2 separate regions of the Homo sapiens genome follow, and region 1 is linked to region 2. Evidence: promoter capture Hi-C in human tissues and cell types (Jung and others, 2019). All regions are on one chromosome and are shown on one strand. Each heading gives the region's core, a stretch centred on a gene start or on the middle of the fragment in contact. The rest is flanking DNA. Distances are from core to core; before and after follow the strand shown. Region 1 holds the start of RC3H2 (ring finger and CCCH-type domains 2). Region 2 holds the start of PTGS1 (prostaglandin-endoperoxide synthase 1).

The links. Contacts are between HindIII fragments. The study calls those that stand out against the background at their distance.
Region 1: a contact is called between the fragment with the promoter of RC3H2 here and the fragment with the promoter of PTGS1 in region 2, in 1 of the 25 tissues and cell types used here (heart left ventricle).

Annotation. Positions count from the first base shown.
Region 1 is chr9:122,904,054-122,906,753 of GRCh38, reverse strand. RC3H2 (ring finger and CCCH-type domains 2) reads left to right here and starts at 1,395. Exons shown (of 21, transcript NM_001100588.3): 1 at 1,395-1,644. RefSeq lists a silencer at 1,291-1,940. The HindIII fragment of the contact is 5,285 bases long and covers 1-2,700 here.
Region 2 is chr9:122,369,749-122,372,448 of GRCh38, reverse strand. PTGS1 (prostaglandin-endoperoxide synthase 1) reads right to left here and starts at 1,425. Exons shown (of 11, transcript NM_000962.4): 1 at 1,358-1,425; 2 at 1,177-1,263. The coding sequence starts at 1,364. The HindIII fragment of the contact is 15,948 bases long and covers 1-2,700 here.

The DNA.
Region 1 (2,700 bases), core at 146-2,645, 530 kb before region 2:
GAATCTTTTTTCAAAAACACTGATTTTTGCCTGTCATTCAGACAAATATAATAGGTAATAACTATATATTTTGTTAAAACTGTAGAAGCAACCTTTCCATATTCTAATTTATCGTAGGTTTACTTCGATATTTTTGTTGTTGGGCATCTGATTTCACATTGGAAAGTGCCTTGAGTTTAATTACAAGTCATGGTCATTTTTTTTCTTCTTTTTTTTGTTGAGACGGAGTCTGGCACTGCCCCCCCGCCTGGCTGTAGTGCAATGGCGCGGTCTCGGCTCACTGCAACCTCCGTCTCCCGGGTTCAAGTGATTCTCCTGCCTCAGCCCCCCGAGTAGCTGGGATTACAGGTGCCCGCCACCACACCCGGCTAATTTTTGTATTTTTAGTAGAGCCAGGGTTTCACTATGTTGGCCAGACTGGTCTCTAACTTCTGACCTGGCGGTCCACCCGCTTCGGCCTCCCAAAGTGCTGGTATTACAGGCATCAGCCACCGCGCCCGGCGTCATGGTCATTTTCTAGCCTACATTCTTTAGTTTCTCATCAGTAACAAGGGGTACATTGTATCTGTCTTCTAGGATCACTTTGCTAATTAAATGAAATGTAAATAAAACTAAAATATTTAAAATTAAATATCACCTAACACAGGACCTGCCTGACACATACTAAGTAGTTTATAAATGTTAATTCTGATATCCCTATTCCAAGTCTGTTTCATCTATAAATTATAAACTGTAAGAATAATTCTTACCTTAGTTCGCTGTGTAAAAAGCTTCAACAAATATTTGAGATATGATGCCAGAATTTGTGCTTAAATTTTTTATTTTTGCCAGCTTTTGAGGAGCTCAGAGCTTTCTTCCCCCCCTCCCCCCCCCACTTTGGACTCTTTGTCTAGAAACAGAGTTTTCTCTTTAATAAAGAAGTGAGATGTGGAAGTGCCTGCCAAATACATGTTTTCTTCTTGTTTTTGTAATGGGGAGATTACTTGACATCTTTGTAAAGGGATTGAGGGATCCTGTCGGCATGTCATCACAGGAGTGTGAAGAAGAATGTGACACAGATGTATCAGATTCTGCTCAATGGATTCCACGCTTTTCACGAAGGGAGTTAAGACACTCGCTCAAACCAGCGTCTAGGAAGCCGGCTCAAGGCGCAGATGAATGTGCAGGGAATTTCCCATCAATCCCTTCGGCTTGCCTAGTCCTTCTCACAGTACCTCCCACAGTGCTCCGGGGCTCCCTTGTCACGTGATCGGGGTGGATCCGCTGAGGCAGAGGGAAGTTGATTCGCAGTTTGGGTGGCTGGGGCTACTACGCTTTCCTTCCAACTCCCGACTCCCGGGCTTGCGTAATCTCGCGTTAAGTGGGGAGTAACTTCTCGCGAGAGCTAGATCGGGATCCCTCCAGGTCCGCCTCCGTGGTGAGGAGGAGGAGGAGGAGGAGGCGGAGGTGGAGGGAGGAGGAGGAGGCCCCGTCGCGGCCTTCGCCGCCGCCAACGGGGCTGTCCCTGTAGCTCCCGATGGAGTTTGAGGTCGTGAAACCTCCGCCGAGCTCTGCCCCGGCGAGACGAGGCGCCTCCGTCGCCAAGCCGCGCCGTCGCGGGGCTCCCGGGAGCGGCCCTTAGCGACCCCGCCCGGGCCCCCTCAGGTAGGGCGGGGGCGGGCACGATGCGGCTCGGGCCCCAGCCCGGGTGCCTGGTCCCCGGCGGTCGGGCGGGAGACCAGTCTCAGCCCTGGGGCCTGTGCGCTGTCGCCCCTGGTGCCTCGAGGGTTGGGAACTGAGGGCCGCACCTGACACTCGGATGGAACCCGGGCCCTGCGGAGGCCCCTCTCTCTGGTAGGGCTTTTTCGATGCGGAGCGACCGGCTCAAATGGCCACCTTCCTTCGACACTGGCCGAGCGGACGCCTCTGACCCCTAACGAACCCACCCAAGCAAAGGCCCGGCTTCACTCTCCCTTTTCTACACCAGTTAGTAAGGGGGTTTGGAAGAGGTCCTCGAAACCAAGTCTTCTCCTAGCTTTTCAGCTTTCTGCCCTGGGGCTTCCCGAGACCCTAGCGTAGAGGGTGGTGGAGGCGATCTGAGTGGTAAATAGGAACCCCGGCCAAACAATGCCCTGGGAGGGCTTAACCTCCCAGGATGGGGACGGCCGGACCTGAGTGGTTGCACAGGGGTTGTGGCTAGGAGCAATGGCATGAAACACAGCCAGGAAATTCTGCTATGGCTTTCTTCTTTCCCTCTCTCATTTTTCCTTTTTGGTGTAGCCTCTTGAGGAGACTCTTCCACCATCTTAGAAGAATGGTAGAAAGCATCTTTGTTTCCCAGAGAAGCAGCTGTACTTTTTTCTATCCTTAGCTTTCAGGATGGGAGAAGATGAGGGTAGCTGTCATTTCCATCCTTCAAATCCCAAGGCAGCCGTTTAAGATACCGGCAGATAAATCCTTCACACCAAAATTGACTCAAGTAATCACTGGCATAAAGTAAATCTAATCCAGTGATTTATTTATATTTTCATAACCCTTGGGTTCCCTTTTTAATTCCTCCTCTCCCCTTACCCACGGCCTTCCTTTTTTTCATTTCTACTCTCCCCCTACCCATTGTGGGTGGGTGAGTTTGTATCCCAAATAAAGTGCTTTAAGTAATCTTTTTTCCAATTTTGTATTGGCCAAACTTTTAAGTTCCAGTAGGAACTTTTGGTTAACCTG
Region 2 (2,700 bases), core at 176-2,675:
ACCTTTGTAAACTTTAAAGTGCTGGCCACATGAGTCTTCCTCCTCCTCTTCCCATAAACCAGACTTTTATTCAACGCAATCCCTTTCCTAGAGCACCCTCCGTCCTCTCTTTGGGTCCCCTAAATGCCACCCACCCAAAGCCCGTTTCAGGAAACTTGGTCTGATCCAAAATCCATGTACATATCTTTCCTCTTTCCCCCACGCACCAGATCCTTAGAGCATCACAGCAGAAAGTGCGGACTCCCTCTGCTCCCTCCTGCCCTCTCTGGGCCTCATTTTAGAGATTTTACACAGCTAGGTGGTGGAGGAAACTATATCCAACTGGGACACATGCTCACACACACGCACACACACAAGCAGCGAGCTGGGGGAGGAAGGTTGGCTGAGCGAGGAGCTGAATTCCTTCACCTGGAACCTGGCACATGCATGGGGGAGGGAAGGGCGGAATTTCCCCATCAACCTCCCCCATGAAACCCAGAGTGGCTCCGGGTCCATTGTGGGTAGAAGCAGCTTTCTGTGGAAAGACCTTGCGAAGTGTGTGGACGCAGACAGACCTGAGTTCAGATCCTGGGCCCACCATGTATTTTGTGAGCTTGGGGAATCATGGCACCTACTGAGCCTCGGTTTCCTCATTTGCTCAATGGGGATCTCTTAAACCCCAGATGAAGCATCCCGGCTCCTAAATGTATTTCCATCTCCCATGTTCTCCCGAAGTCTTCACCAGGGGAGACCTTCTCCACTGGCAATGGGAATCAGGATGGGTTCCCAGACGGTTAGAGGCTGGAGAAAGGGAACTCATTTCCCTTGGTGCCTGCGGCTTCCTCCCAAAGAGGCCCCTATAGGAAACAGCGGGGTTGTTGGGTGCAGAGGCTGCTTAGACATCTGGGGCCCAGAACAGGTGAGGGGGATGGATAGGGACTGTCCCTTCTCCCCAAGTTGGCACCAGATCCCAGTCTGCTGTTTCCCCTGAAAGAACTAGATAGCCCATTAGCCAAGGCCACACCGCCGGGGGGGCTTCAGGGAGCCCCCATCCCACCAAAAGACTCAGCCTCAGTCTTTCTCAGCACCGCGAGCAGAAAGGGGAAGCTGGGCCCGCTGGAGGGGAAAGGAGGGGGTTGAAACCAGGCCAGGGGCGCAAGACCGGGGATTCCCTTGGGGAGGGATGGGGCCGCCTACCTGGCGTGGGCGCCCCTGGGTCCGCGAGCAGGACGGGGAGCGGCGGGAGCAGGAGCAGGAACAGCAAGAACCAGAGCAAGAGACTCCCTGCAGAGGAGAGAGATGAGGGGCTGAGCCTGGCATTCAAGGCTCCACCAGGAGGCCAAGAAAATTCCCCACCGGGCACCGGGGTCGCACTCACGGCTCATGGCGCGGCTGCTGGGGTGCGGGACGCAGAGTGCAGGCTCCTGTGCGTGCGCCTCGCACACTGCCCGGAGCTCCAGCCCATCCCCTCCCCACCCTTCCCCCGGCTCCACCCCCGCTCCTCCCTCCAGCTGTCACCTCGGCTGCCCGCTTACTTCCTCTGCCCAGCCCCGGCCAAGGCATTTTATTAATTAGTGTATGCTCGCCGCTAAAGCGGCTTTTCACCCAAGATCCTTGAAGCACTTACGTTTCTGATGCCTGGTGGCACTAGATATAGACAGGAAACTGAGGCTCAGAGACGATGCTCAATGCTGAGGTCACCCAGGGCTTAGGGACAGAACTGGGGATGGAAGCGGCTCGTCTGAACCACATACCCTGCCCCGCAGAGAAGAAAGGGTCTCAGAGTCCCCTTCTGTAAAATGGGTCTAACGCACTCTACAGAAAAGGGTAGAGAAGAAAAGGGGCTAGAAACAGGGCAGTCTGCAGAGAAGAAAGGGGGCTAGAAATGGGGCAGTCCAGCCTGGCCTGCTGATGGTTTCCTAGATGAGAAACTCACTACTCCTCAGACAGATCTAACAGGAAGGACTTACTTCCCCCATGGGCTGGGCTCCGCCCCCTGAAGCCACAGGTCTCTGCCAGAAATGAAAAGACCGGGCTCCAAACTCCAAGAGAGCCTAGTTCAAATCCAGACTCCACAGCTTACTGGCCGTGTCACCTTGGACAAGGTACTTATCTTTTCTAGCCCTCAGTATTCTCATCTATAAAATCGGCTTAATAGCAAAAACCATCCCAGAGGGTGGTTGTAAGATTCAATGAGGGAATGCACACAAATCTCCTGGTGCAGTGTCCAGCATGTAGTAGGTGCTCAGTTATCGGAAGGCATTTTTTCAAAGATCTCTGAACTCAGATTCCAGGGCTGGCCAGGGTCCATGCTGTAGCTAGACTCACATCCACCGCCGAATTTATAGAATCCCAGCATCCAGCTCTCCTTTTCGCCAGCTCAGGAAGCACCTAGAAGGAGGAAGGAATAGGTCCAAGATCACCCAAAGTCCCATGGTGCTGGCACCCACAAGTCATCTCCCTCAGTTTCCCCAGCACACCCAGCCATCCTGTGGGCCCCACAGTGGGGAAAGCCGGCAGGAGAGCTCAGAGGTTCTTGTGCTGGCTCCTGGGCATCACTGGGTGCAGGGTAGAAATTATGCCAGGTGGGAGAGGTGAAACCTGCTGGGAAGCCCCTCCCCCATTCTCACCCAAGCTGTTCCCATGCTCCCCTGGGACAAAAGCCAGCTGCCCTAGGGAGACAGAGCAAGCCAGGGCAGACCTGGAGAAGGAGTGGGGCAT